5 separate regions of the Homo sapiens genome follow, and all the other regions are linked to region 5. Evidence: promoter capture Hi-C in human tissues and cell types (Jung and others, 2019). All regions are on one chromosome and are shown on one strand. The core of a region is centred on a gene start or on the middle of the fragment in contact, and the rest is flanking DNA. Distances in the headings are between cores, read along the strand shown. Region 1 overlaps ADAMTS17 (ADAM metallopeptidase with thrombospondin type 1 motif 17). Region 2 overlaps ADAMTS17 (ADAM metallopeptidase with thrombospondin type 1 motif 17). Region 3 overlaps ADAMTS17 (ADAM metallopeptidase with thrombospondin type 1 motif 17). Region 4 overlaps CERS3 (ceramide synthase 3). Region 5 holds the start of ADAMTS17 (ADAM metallopeptidase with thrombospondin type 1 motif 17).

Region 1 (2,700 bases), core at 129-2,628, 240 kb before region 5:
ACAGGTCCATGGGTTCTGCCCACTCTACTTGGTGTTATTTTAGAGGCTGTCTGCATCTGGAGACAGGGAATGCAGGGCTGTCCATGTCTGAACAGCAGTGACTCTAAATGCTGACGGGTGACAGCCACAAAATCTGCGAACGGGGGCATTTTCTTCCATTGTTTCAGTCAGCGCAAGCAACTTATAATCTTGGCAGAAACTGGGATGGTTTTCAAATGGAAGCTGCCATAGGACACAACTGAAGTCATTAATTCTGAATATTAGGGGAGCTTTGATGATTGTATTTATGAGGCTTGGTGTTCCAAGAGAACAAGATGACCAAGCCTGAGGAAACTCCAGGCAATAAACTCTCTCAAGTCTTCCCATGTTATCCTGGTGATCCTTAGTTACTTTCCTAGGAATCTTCATCACCCATTTCTCAGCTTTCAAAGCAGGGCTTCAAGTTCCTGGCCAGCATTTGCTGGTCGCGCCCTGTGCCTCTGGCTAAGTCAGGGTGTATGTGACACCAAAGGACCAAGGAACAATGTCCCACGGCATAATTAAAGGCATGGGATGGTATGAGATGGTATGAGATGGGATGGAACGGGGGGAAAAGCACAAGTTCTTCATTGGTCAAGACAGCTCCTGAGAAACATGCAGAAAGTGCTTGGAAAAGCTTTAGTGCTCAGATCCGTGTGCTGAGGAGGGCACAGGATGGGCCGTGGACAGTGGCAAATGTCCATCTTTAGCTGTCTGAGTCCTGGATTCCACCCTGGAACTTTGCCCCTGTTGAAGATAACCAGGGACAACAGCCTCCTGGTCATCACACCTAGTGGACGTGTCTCCAGCCTCATCTTTCACCTCCTGCTCTACAGCGTCCGCTGTGTGTAACGCCCACCCTGTCTCTGTTGTGCATGTATTGATTCACCCGTGGTGCCTGTTATGTGCCTAACCTGGAAATAAAGACATGTAAGATGGAGGGAGACGCCAGTGCGGAAACAAGCAGACACCCCAGAGTGTGTGCTAAAGATGCCCTGGAAGCCAAGGATGGCTCCTGTCTGATTCTCCTCCCAGCCCCTGGATGACTCCTCCCTCCTCTTGCTTCTTCGACTCCGTGAAAGTGGGTAGCTCCCCCGGGGCTCCCTGCTTTTTCCGATTTTTCATTTTCTTGGTAATTTCGCCTTCTCCTTATTTCAGCCATCATCCTCATGCAAAGAGCTCTTAAGCCCACTTCTCCCCTCACTCCACCCTGGCTCTCACTACTAAGAGTCTGCTGAGCAATCTCTCCACTTTCAATGCGACAGCTTCTCCTCCAAAGCTGCCTGACCTCTTAATTCTAGTTGGACACCCCCTGCCACTGTCTTGGAACTGACAGACAGGCATCCTAGCCTGAAACCTCCAAGCCATTTCTGACTCTTCTATTTTGGGATGTACCCAGTTAGTTGGTGAGCTTGGGTTTTTTGTGCCCTGAAAACCTCTGTTGCCTACTTCTCCTCCATGTTCAGCTCCACTCCCTAGTTTACACCCTCCTTAATCAGGACATGAACTATGGGAGCATTTTTCTCCTGCCTGCTGCCAGACTAATCTCCACACAAAAAGAGAGATAAGATCTGTGGCCAAAGATCCCCACTGCCTATCAGAAACGTCCGCACATATGAATTTAAGACCCTCCATGATCTCATTCCAGCTGCTCACCAACTCAGCCTGCCTTCCTCCCCCACTCCAGATGCACAGTGAATCCAACCCCCTCCAGCCCACTCTTGTAAGCCCTCCCCCGGAATGACCCCTCAGCCAGGTGGGCAACCAGAATAGCCTCTTAACTTGTTTCCTGGGATCTACTTGAGTCAGTTATCCATAGCTAAGATCGCTTCACTCCTCTGCATCAATTCTGCCTGGGCCCTGGCTCCTTTGTGCCAGCCTCCGCCCTCGTCTGTTGCTGGAATGCACCCATCTCCCTCTTGCTTCCCTCTGCCTGGAGCTCTCTGCCCCCAACTCTCTGCCAGGCTGGCTCTTCCTCAAAGGCTGTCTCCTCTAAGAGAAATGCCATGCCACCTGCTCACTGTCCTCCTCAGCCACAGTCCCCCGCTGGGTCTCTCTATGGCACCATTTTCTTCTTCACACATACCAATCTCTGGAATGATCACGTTTGTGAGCTGACATGGCCTGTCTGTATGTTGGACAGGGACAGGGATCCTCTTGGTCCTGCTCCCTAATGAAAGCCCAGCACACAATACAGTGTGCAGCACTCGGAATGTGATCAACAAATACCTGATGCAGGAATAAACGAAATTCCACCCTATGGGTTTTCTGCTATGTCTAAGTGGAACCTCTTCTTGGTTGTTAAATCACGCCTTCGCCTCTGGTCGTTGGGTTTCCAAGTGAGTATGTGTCATCTCCCTAACGGACCATAAGCACATAGAGGACTGTGTCTGAGAATTCTTTGTATTCTTGGCCTTCCCCCATCCTCTGACACACACAGTGGCTGGTGTGGTATTAAGCACATGTGTGTTCAGTAAGAGCATACAAATGATGACCTCTTATCAAGCTGGGGAGTCTAGTTTTCTCATATTTGAATTGGGACTTCCTCGTACAAGTTTTGATGGTACTTGTTTTTTCTGGCTGGAATAAGCAGTACTTGCTTTCTTCAACTTATTAGCTATCTTCCAACTACTGCCTCATCCCATCTCTTCGGTTGGAGGGAGGCCACCGACTTCTTGAATG
Region 2 (2,749 bases), core at 162-2,661, 160 kb before region 5:
AAGTCTACTTTTTCTGATATTAATATAGCGATTCCTGTTTTTTTCCCACAATGAATGTTTTCATGATGTATTTTTTCAATTTTTAAAATTTTACATTCAATCTACCTATGTCATTATGTTTGAAATGAGTTTCTTTCAGGGAGCAGATAGTTAGGTCACATTTTTAAATCCATTCTGCCAGTGTTTGTCTTTTAGCTGAAGTATTTTTTTAGATCATTGAAAGCAATTACTGACATGTTAGGGATTAAGTGTGCCATTTTATTATTTGTTTTGTTTCTTTTGTTTCTTTTTTCTAGACATCCTGTGGGTTACTTGAACATCAATTAGAGTTTGATTTTGATTTATTCATGATTTTAAAAATATCACTCTGTATAGTTCTCTTAGTGGTTCTTCTAGGTATTGCCATATACACACATCACAGCCAACTGGTGTTGACATTTCACCACTCTGAGTTAAGCAGAGAAATGTGACATTTATTTAGATCCTCATACCCTCCCCATAATGCACTGCCTTAAGTGTTCTGTCTACATACATGAAATGTTATAACTTATGCTTCAAAGCTAGAATATGACTTAAAAAGTTTACGAAGTTAAGAATACTCTATAATATGTAGTTGTACTTTTACCCATTCTGTTGTTCTTTTACTATTGTTCTGTTGTTCTTTTACCCATTCTGTTGTTTTTTACTATTGTTCTGTTGTTCTTTTACCCATTCTGTTTTGAAGGATCCATATTCTTCTCCTACCATTTTCTTTGGAGAGCTTATTTCAGCCATTCTTTAAGGGTCCGTTTACTAGCAACAAATTCTATTAGATTTCCTTTTTCTGAGAATGTATTTTTTCTTCATTCCTGAAGGATAGTTTTATTTGATATAGGATTGAAAATTGAGAATTATTTCAACACTTAAAAAAAATTTTGTGCCACTTCATTCTGGCCTCTATGATTTCAGATGAGAAACCTATCGTCATCCAAATTGCTGTTCCTTTAGAGGCAATACATTGTTCCCAATTTTTTTTTCCTAATTTCTGTGGGTACATAGTAGCTGTATGTATTTATGGGGTGCATGAGATATTTTGATACAGACATACAATGTCTAATAATTATATCAGGGCAAACGGGGTATCATCATCTCCAACAATCCAAGTATACTTTTTTAGTTATTTAAAAATGTACATTTAAATTATAACTATAGCCCTGTTGTGGAACCAAATACTAGGTCTTATTCATTCCTTCTAACTAGTTTTTGTACCCATTAACTATCTTCACTTCCCTGCCAGCCTCCTATTACCCGTCTTAGCCTCTGGTAACCATCATTCTACTCTCTATGAGTTCAATTGTTTTAATTTTTAGCTCCAACAAATAAGTAGAACATGTGAAGTTCGTATTTCTGTGCCTGGCTTATTATGACCTCCAGTTCCATCCACGTTGTTGCAAGTGACAGGATCTCATTCTTTCTACTCCATTGTGGTAAGTACCATATTTTTTTAATCCATTCCTCTGTTGATGAACACTTTGGTTGCTTCCAAATCTTGGCTATTGTGACTAGTGCTACAATAAACATGCGAGTGCAGATATCTCTTTGATATACTGACTTCCTTTCTTTTGGGTATATACCTAGCAGAGAGATTGCTGGATCACAAAAATAGTTCTATTTTTAGTTTATTGAGGAACCTCCAAACTGTTCTCCATAGTGGTGGTACTAATTTACATTCCCACCAGTGTATGAGGGTTGCCTTTTTTCCACAACCTTGCCAGCATTTGTTATTGCCTGTCTTTTGGATAAAAGCCTTTATAACTGGGGTGAGATGATATCTCATGGTAGTTTTGATCTGCATTTCTCTGATGATCAATGATGAACACTTTTTCATTTGTATGTCTTCTTTTGAAAAATGTCTATTCAGATCTTTTGCGCGTTTTTAAATCAGATTATAAGATTTTTTCCTAAGAGTTGTTTGAGCTCCTTATGTATTCTGGTTATTAATCTCTTGTCAGATGGGTAGTTTGTAAATATTTTCTCCCATTCTGTGGGGTGTCTCTTCACTTTGCTGGTTGTTTTCTTTGTTGTGCAGAAGCTTCTTAACTTGATGTGATCCCATTTGTCCAATTTTCCTTTGGCTGCCTGTTCCTGTGGGGTATCACTCAAGAAATCTTTGCCCAGACCACTGTCCTGGAGTGTCTCCCCACTGTTTTATCAGTTTCATAGTTTGAGGTCTTAGATTTAAGTCTTTAATCTATTTTGGTTTTTGTACATCGCAAGAGAAAGGGATCTAGTTTCAGTTTTCTGCATATGGATATCTAGTTTTCCCAGCCCCACTTATTGAGGAGACTGTCCTTTCCCCAACGTATGTTCTTGGCACCTTCGTCAAAAATGAGTTCACTGTAGATGTATGAATTTGTTTCTGGGTTCTCCATTCTGTTCCATTGCTCTGTGTATCTGTTTTAAATGCCAATACCCATGCCATTTTGGTTACTATAGCTCTACAGTATAATCTGAAGTCAGGTAATGTGATTCCTCCAGTTTCGTTCTTTTTGCTCAGGATAGCTTTTGCTATTTTGGGTCTTTTATGGTTCCATATAAATTTTAGGATTTTTTTTCTATCTCTGTGAAGAATGTCATTGATATTTTGATAGGGATTGCACTGAATCTGTAGATTGCTTTGGGTAGTATGGATGTTTTAACAGTATTTATTCTTACAATTCATGAACGCTGAATATCTTTCCATTTTTTTTGAGTCCCCTTCAATAGCTTG
Region 3 (2,700 bases), core at 158-2,657, 180 kb before region 5:
TGTTTTCTTACATTAAATATTCCAATGTTCATGGTTTTGGTGTTTCTGTTCCTTAGAGATAATCACTGTGCTAACGGGAATCACTGGGTACCATCCTAGACCTTGACTTACAGAATGATCTGAATCTAAGCCTTCCAACTCATTACAGAGTATGGCTTTTCTATCTTTCACATCTAACAAGATCACACCTGTCACCTTCCCTATTCAGCTATACCTGAGACATACCAGGATGCCTGTCTAGGCCTGGAGGGCTCATCACACTGTGAGCTGAACAGTGATCTTAGCTTATACACTTGCCCTCACTGGGGTGAGCCAAGACATGCAGCACGCAAGATCCAGTTGCCCAGTTTGCTGACCCAGAGTTCTTATGCCCCAACGTGTATAAGGATGACCATCTTTCAACAATCTCAGTGGAACAACGACAACAAAAAAGAACATGTACTTTCATTCATTCAAAAATATTAGACACTTTCCAAGTGCCAGGTAACGGACCACAAGGAAAAGACCTCAAATCACTGCCAGCTTGGGAGAAGAGATGAACACTGACACAGATAATGATAAAAGAGGTTTCTAAACTCTGCTCTAGAGCCATGTTTTCCTAGTTTGCTCATAGATATCTGACCATCTTCCGTCAGCAACCCTGCTTGTTGCCTAATGGTGGTGTCTCCCCAAAAGAAACCCATCCTGTCTTCTCTGCATGCCTGCAGGCCACCCCCACACCCTTTTGCCTACAGAGATGCTCCCTTGGCCAACTCCCACGTGGAGTTGGATCAGCTAAAGTCACCCATGTCCTTTGGAGGATCCGCTGCCTGGCGCTCATGTGTTCTGGAACTTTGGGCTAGCGGGGCCCTCTCTGATCACCCACATGTGACTTCCCCCGTCAGTGGAGGGGGGGCATCCTTACCAATCTTCCATTGTATTTATTCTTAAACCTACTGATGTCAGTGACACTTGTTATTTCAATTCATACATGTGGCTACATGTTGGGTTAACCAACGAAATATGGGGACAAACACCAAGTTGTTGTTCTCATGAAAACAGATTTAGCCAGTAGCTAAGATAGACTGCTGTCCAACTGGGTGTGGGCAAGACAACTGTGAAAGATGAATAAATCATAAAAATCTGCTCCAAGGCTGCTTCACAAGTCTTTTACAATCCTTTTTATGTGTATACAAACACACACACACACATGCACATATAAAAGAAACTAGATTCAAACTCTTATTATAGGCATGCTTTGTGTGAGGAAAGTGTATTAGTCCATTTTCACACTGCTATAAAGTGTTTCACACTTGAAACTGGGCAATTTTTAAAGGAAAGAGGTTTAACTGACTCACAGTTCTGCCAGGGAGACCTCAGGAAACTTACAATCATGGCAGAAGGTGAAGGGGAAGCAAAGACCTACTTCAAATGGTGGCAGGGGAGAGAAGCACAAGCAAGGAAAATGCCAGATGCTTACAAACCCATCAGATCTTGTGAGAACTCTCTCACTGTCACAAGAACAGGACAGAGGAAACCACCCTCATGATCCAATCACCTCCCAGCGGGTCCCTCCCTCGACACATTGGATTACAATTCAAAATGAGATTTGGGTGGGGACACAGCCAAACCATATCAGAAGGTGACATGGAAGTCCAATTGGCAGACACCCGTCCTCAAAGAAGAGGCTTTCCCTCTCCATTACAAAATTGTTGAAAAAAACTAATGTTTTTATAGCTTAAGTTAAAACAAAATGTCTAAGGCACTTACATATAATGTCTTGTTATTTCTCCACTTGAATCAATTTTTTGCTTAATTGCTCAAGTGACCAACTAGAGTCATTTCTGAAAAGGGAGTGTCTGCATCGCCACCTAGGTATAGATGGCCATATTTTCGCGTGGTCTGGACTGCTATCAACCTCAGACCCTCCTGACTGGAGGCCCACAGGCTCTTCCAACTCACCCTATTTTCTCAGGGCAGCAGAAACTGGTGCAAAGCGAGCATTTGGTAAAAATATTTATTGAACGAATTATCTGTTTAATAGCAAAGAAAGTGCCAAAAAAATACCGGACAACTCATATCCATGACAAGTGTGTTGATCTGGCGTGGTGGCAGACTGCTTGGCAGAATGGCAAAAGTCACCTCTCGTTAGATTCAGTCTCGTCCTCATGCCTCAGTGTCAGGTATCTATCCAATTAGGGTTAAAGGAAGACTGAAGAAATTATCAGACAAATATGGCCAGTGAGAACAGTTTAGCTATATTCTTTTTTTTTTTTTTTCCTGAGATGGAGTCTTGCTCAGTCACCCAGGCTGGAGTGCAGTGGCAGAATCTCGGATCACTGCAACCTCTGCCTCCCGCGTTCAAGCTATTCTCCTGCCTCAGCCTCCCGAATAGCTGGGACTAGAGGCACGCGCCAGCACGCCTGGCTAATTTTTGTATTTTTAGTAGAGACAGGGTTTCACCATGTTGGCCAGGATGGTCTCAACCTCTTGACCTTGTGATCCGCCCGCCTCGGCCTCCCAAAGTGCTGGGATTACAGGCGTCAGCCACTGCTTAATGGTCACTTTGTTGAATAAAGTGAGTTCTATTTTTTCAATGCAATTACTCAGCTTTTTACTTTACTTTTGGGTGAGCAACAGAAAATGTTTACTTATACACAAGTGCATGAGAAAGCAATCTCCATTCAGCTTTAAAAAAATCCTGTTACAAATAAAAAAGAT
Region 4 (2,700 bases), core at 165-2,664, 160 kb after region 5:
TTGTCTCAAGTTTTTCCAACTCTTGACATTTGAATATTCTCTTTGCTCCAAATAAATTAATGTGCTAATAACAGCTTTTTGAAATAGAGTCAACAACAGAGATTATAGATGAACATTTATCTACTGTTATCATAACACTAGTACAATTTTAATAAAAAGGCTGGAAATAATATCCATTTAAATTAAATCAAGAAAAAAATAAGTTTACTTTTTCTGAGAAAGCAAACTGATAGTTTTTCTCTTTGATTTCCTTGCACTTTAGAACGAAGGGCAGCTATTAAACCTTTAAATAAACCTTTAAAATAAGCTATACTATATAGCAATATTTGGTTTAGACTTTAATGAGCCATTTTTGTTATTTTATAGGCACTTGAGGATGCTAATGCTTCCTGAGTCATAGACTCTTCTAGCACAGCCTTTCTGGGAATGCACATGCATTGTCAGACACCGTGGAAGAGTAGATGAACTGGGTTCCCGTATTGTCATTGATACCAATAAGCTCTGTGGTCCGCAACCTCTCTTGATCTTGATTTTCTTCGTTATAAAACTAAAGCACTCAGTGGGATCCATGTTTCTAATTTTTTGTTGTTCAGCCTTTAAATAACATTTGGAGCGCATCTGATTACATTAACTCATCCCCAGAATCTGTGGCCCATTAGTGGCAACCTCTGAACAACAGATTCTTTAAGGATCTCACTAAGCCTAAGACTGTATTATTCTAGTGTTAGAGCAAAGAGGGGGAATGGGAAGGAAAGACACAAGTACTACTTACTTTTCAAATACACGTCTGATAATCAGCAAGAGAAAAGCATATGGAATTGTCACGTATAAATGAGAAGGTTTTACAAAGACGAGTCCATCGTGATCCTCAAGATCTGACCACTTTATTGTTGGAGGAAGCCAGAATCTTTCCAACCAGAACCATTCTTTAAACGTCCAAAACATTCTAGAGAAATGGAAACAGACATTAGGCTTGTAAAACAAACACGTAACTTTAGGATAACATTGATCACCTTGGCTCAAAATGCCAGATCCAGAGAGCTTAGAAAATAAGGCAAGAGGCCTAGCGCAGTGGCTCACACCTGCAATATCAGCACTTTGGGAGACCAAGGCGGGCGGATCATGAGGTCAAGAGATCAAGTCCATCCTGGCCAACATGGTGAAATCCCATCTCTACTAAAAATACAAAAATTGGTCAGGTGTGGTGGTGCACACCTGTAGTCCCAGCAACTTGGGAGGCTGTGGCAGGAGAATAGCTTGATCCCAGGAGGCGGAGTTTGCAGTGAGCCAAGATCACGCCACTGTACTCCAGCCTGGCGACAGAGCAAGACTCCACCTCAAAAAAAGAAAAAAAAAAAAAAAAAAAGAAAGAAAGAAAGAAAGAAAATAAGGCAAGAATGGAATACTATTATTTAATGGATTATATGATCCTTCATTGCATTAAACAGGAATTACTCTTCCATACCCTCAGGACAATTTTGTTTATGGAAAAACTCAAGTTTAACACATCACTATTCACACTTTTGGCAAAACATATGTGAATATTATGCACGTGTATTTTCTTTGTGTATGATTCTATGGTATAAAAAAATAACAATAGGCTTTACAACTTTAACATGCCAAAAGTCAATGTCCTGAAGGCTCCAGGTAGGTACAAATCATCACTAGTACCCTAAAAAATTCCCCAGGAAATAAGGGGCAGGCACGTTTCACTTCATATTACAAGGAGATCAAATTAGTCTATGTAAAGGAATATTTATTAAGATTCTGTTATTTGTGAAGAGCCGTGCTGAGCACTGAGGATAAAACAATTAATAAGACAGGCTTCCTGCCTTGAGGACATAATAGTCTCGTAAGCAAGGCAGGCCTGAACTCATGACTTCAACACATTTTTTTTTTTAGGTATGCTAAAAAACGTATACAGGTTGCTGTGGGAACAAGATGATGGGCACTGAGCCCAACCAGGAAATATCAGGGAAAGGTAACTGGAAGAAAAAGTCCTTGAGATATCTTGAACAATAAGTGGACATAAGCCAGGAAAGGCAGGAAAATGGGGAAGAAGGAATACAAGTTCTAAGCAGACAAAGTATTCAGACTACAATCAAGTAACCAGAGCATAGAATAATGTAAATTAGATGTTTTAATATCATTGTTTAGGCTGTGATCATTTTGGACTTGGGATTTTGACTTGAGGATGCATGAATTTCATCTTTTAATGTTTAATCAGAAAAAGGAATCAAAATGTCCTCAGATTCACAACAAGGTTGTCAAAATCACTCTGTCAAAACCTCTTAATCGGGAAATAACAAGGCGCACATAGAAAACTACCAGTGGGTTGGTACTACCACAGTGAATGAATCCAAGGTGTGGAATGGTAGGTTACAAATAAGTGCCCAGGCACTGCAGTGGATTGCCCTGGCATAATCAGTAACAGCTCTTCCTTCCTTTCAGAAGTATTCTGAAAGGAATACTTTGGACAATAAATCATATGATCACCCTCATTAAAATGCTGGTGGGACAAGCAGGCTAGGCCTTAGAGCGTTTGCTTGCATTCCATGCTAAGGAGTTTGGCATTTAGCTGATAGGACCCACTGAAGGGTATTATGAAGAGGAATGAGATGGTCAGCTATTTTAGAAAGGTCAATTTGGTAGCCAGCTCCTCTGTGAGCCCATAGGGTGTCTTTGTGCTGATTAGAGGAA
Region 5 (2,700 bases), core at 12-2,511:
CTGTCCAGGGCCCTGACAGTTTCATCCCTGCCAGATCTGCGCTCCCTAGAGCGGGCGGCGTATACCCCACGCAACCCCAGCTCCGCGCGGGTTCCACGGGCTGCAGAGGCGCTGGACTGGGATGCTGCCCCTCCCACCCCCTTTGCCTATAGAGGGTACCGAAGGCCGGGGTGGGGGATGGGGAGAGGTGGAAAGGCAGGGGGTTCCCTCCGGTTCCCCTGGAGGCTGGACTTCCAGCAGAGGCGCCCCACCCCCACCCTCCACGGCGACCACTCTGCGTCGCAACAGACCGGACGGGCCGACCCGGAGGTGGCGCGGGCAGTACCAGGCCGCCGGCGGCGCCGCAGGCGCTGAGCGAGACGAGGGAGCCGGGGTGGCCGAGCACACGGCCCGAGTAGAAGCACAGCTCGGCGGGGCGGCCGCGGCGCCGGGCCGCGCCCGCCTCCTCCACCTCGAAGCCTCGGGACAGGAAGCGCAGGTCGCGGCGCAGCTGAAGGTACAGGTCGCGCCCGAAGGCCGGCAGGTGCAGCAGCAGGGCGCGCTCTCCGGGCCGGGCGCGCGGGGCGGCTGGGGGCGTGCGGGGGCGTCGCCGCCGTCGGGGCCCGGGGGCTGCGGGCAGCGGCGGCAGGTGCACGTCGTCGGGGCGCACCCGCCACGGGAGCACCACCTCCACGTCGGCCGCCGCGTCGCCGACAGCTGCGGGGAGAGAGGAGACGCGTCAGCGCGGCGGGGCCCGCCCGGACGCCCGCCCTCCCGCTGGCCGCCAGCCGCGCCAGCGCGGGGACAGCGCGACCCGGAGCCGGCGCTGCCTTCCCTTCCCTCGCCCGGCACCTCCACGCTGGCCCGCGCCACCCGGGGAGGGTCTCCGGCGCAGCCGCGCGAGCACCTCCCGGAACGGCGCCGCGCATCGGCGAGCGGAGACCCGGCGGCGGCGCGCCTGCCACGGAGCCACCCGATTCCCGTACTCCGGCCGCGGCCCGCGCCTCCTCCGCTCGGGCGCCGTCAGCGGTCCCGCCGCCGCCCCCGGGCCGCCAGGACGCCGCGAGAACGCAGAGGGAAGGTAGCCGCAGGACGCGGGGTGAAGAGGGCTGTGGGAGGGGGCGCTACCTGTGCCCGGGTCCAGTCCCCAAACCAGCAGCAGCAGCACGGGCAGGACGAGCGGAGGCAGCAGGGCGCCGTCACACATGGTACCCGGGACCGGCAGCCCCCCCGGACCGTGGCGGCGAAGCAGGAGCGCGCTAGGCGGCGGCGCCAGCCGGAGTGAAGCCCTCCAGCCTTTGGAAAAAGTAATTAGCGCTGCGGACAAACCCAACGTGGTAAACCCCAAGCCCCGCCTTCCCCTCGGAAGGCGGGAGGGGATTGGGCCCTCGCTTTCCTCCGCCCCGCCTCCTCCTTCCCTACTGGTTGGGATGGGTCGAAACCACAGTGCGTAGTTAGGTTGTCAGCGCTTTCTTACACGTGGTTTCTGGGCAGTGGCGGGGACACGGCACCAGGTGGCGCGCGGGAGCCGACCGGAGCCGTGGGACCCTGGAAGAGCTGGAGGATGCGGGGCTGGTCTTCAGAGCTTGTCCTCATTTTGGAACTCTCTCAGCCTGCTGCCCAGTTTCCCGGGAAGGTAGGGCGGAAATCGCCCCGGCCAAGCGGTTTCATCCAAAACTGCATATAATCTTTACATCTGAAGTTAGGTTTTAGTTGTTTGTGGCCGCAAAGACTCCCAGTCCACTTTCCCGCACACCTGAGTTAGCACCTGAAGGCTATATCCGCGGCGTTTATCCAAACTCTTCACACCTCCTGTCTTCTTTAATCCCACAGGAGCCAGTGCAACACGCATGCTCACACCCTCTTACAGACTGAAAAACTGAGGAAGAGAGAGAGCTTAAGGAAAAACGCTGAAGTTACCCAGAGAGTTCCTGTTGGAGCAGAGGCTAGAATTTGTGATCCTGATTTCTGGCTTGGTGCTTCTTATTAACAGCAGGATCCCCCCGCCCCGAGGGAAGCAGGACTCAGTGTTACAGGTTAGGAAACGGAGGCACAAAGTCCCAAAGCCTAGCCTTGAACGTGAGTCTCCCAGAAACAGAATGAGTTGATCCTTTCCTGCCACAATATAACTGAGGTCTGCAGGGAAGGTGACTCCATTAGCTTGCTGAATAGCATCTTGTAGAGGCTCATGCCTGTAATCCCAGCACTTTGGGAGGCCAAGGCGGGCGGGTCACGAAGTCAGGGGTTCCAGACTAGCCTGGCCAATATGGTGAAACCCTGTCTCTACTAAAAATACAAAAATTAGCCAGGCGTGATGGCGCACACCTGTAGTCCCAGCTACTCGGGAGGCTAAGGCAGAAGAATCGCTTGAACCCGGGGGGTGGAGGTTGCAGTGAGCCGAGATTGTGCCACTGCACTCCAGCCTGGGCAACAGAGCAAGACTCCATCTCAAAAAAACAAAACAAAACCAAACAAAACAAAAAAAACAATTAAGTGTAACCATAACCAATCTCAGGTTTCCCGTCCCTTCCCTGTCCTGCTCTTTTCCATTTTATCATAGCAGAAAGGTTATAGTTCCCCGCTGGATGCTGCTTGAAGCCTCGGAATCTAAATTCATCACAGGATTACATATCATCTGAAGGAATCTATAACACTGGCCACCTTCCCCGAAATATAATGAACCCCAAGGCTGAACAGTGACCCTCCACAGAGGCTTGCCAC

The links. The method cuts DNA at HindIII sites, captures the fragments that hold promoters and counts their contacts. A contact is called where the count stands out against the background at its distance.
Region 1: a fragment that was not itself captured here is called in contact with the fragment with the promoter of ADAMTS17 in region 5 in 1 of the 25 tissues and cell types used here (mesendoderm cells).
Region 2: a fragment that was not itself captured here is called in contact with the fragment with the promoter of ADAMTS17 in region 5 in 1 of the 25 tissues and cell types used here (H1 embryonic stem cells).
Region 3: a fragment that was not itself captured here is called in contact with the fragment with the promoter of ADAMTS17 in region 5 in 3 of the 25 tissues and cell types used here (H1 embryonic stem cells, mesendoderm cells and thymus).
Region 4: a fragment that was not itself captured here is called in contact with the fragment with the promoter of ADAMTS17 in region 5 in 2 of the 25 tissues and cell types used here (aorta and spleen).

What each region holds. Positions count from the first base shown.
Region 1 is chr15:100,099,187-100,101,886 of GRCh38, forward strand. All of the region lies in intron 14 of ADAMTS17 (ADAM metallopeptidase with thrombospondin type 1 motif 17), which reads right to left. Among named protein-coding and RNA genes, the nearest start is that of ADAMTS17, 240 kb to the right of the region's middle. The HindIII fragment of the contact is 5,776 bases long and covers 1-2,700 here.
Region 2 is chr15:100,177,947-100,180,695 of GRCh38, forward strand. All of the region lies in intron 8 of ADAMTS17 (ADAM metallopeptidase with thrombospondin type 1 motif 17), which reads right to left. Among named protein-coding and RNA genes, the nearest start is that of ADAMTS17, 160 kb to the right of the region's middle. The HindIII fragment of the contact is 4,607 bases long and covers 1-2,749 here.
Region 3 is chr15:100,155,646-100,158,345 of GRCh38, forward strand. All of the region lies in intron 8 of ADAMTS17 (ADAM metallopeptidase with thrombospondin type 1 motif 17), which reads right to left. Among named protein-coding and RNA genes, the nearest start is that of ADAMTS17, 180 kb to the right of the region's middle. The HindIII fragment of the contact is 5,688 bases long and covers 1-2,700 here.
Region 4 is chr15:100,500,905-100,503,604 of GRCh38, forward strand. CERS3 (ceramide synthase 3) reads right to left here. Exons shown (of 12, transcript NM_001378789.1): 3 at 773-946. The coding sequence starts at 945. Among named protein-coding and RNA genes, the nearest start is that of CERS3, 27 kb to the right of the region's middle. The HindIII fragment of the contact is 5,225 bases long and covers 1-2,700 here.
Region 5 is chr15:100,340,714-100,343,413 of GRCh38, forward strand. It overlaps ADAMTS17 (ADAM metallopeptidase with thrombospondin type 1 motif 17), which reads right to left and starts at 1,262. Exons shown (of 22, transcript NM_139057.4): 1 at 1,108-1,262; 2 at 326-696. The coding sequence starts at 1,186. RefSeq lists an enhancer at 1-114. The HindIII fragment of the contact is 7,903 bases long and covers 1-2,700 here.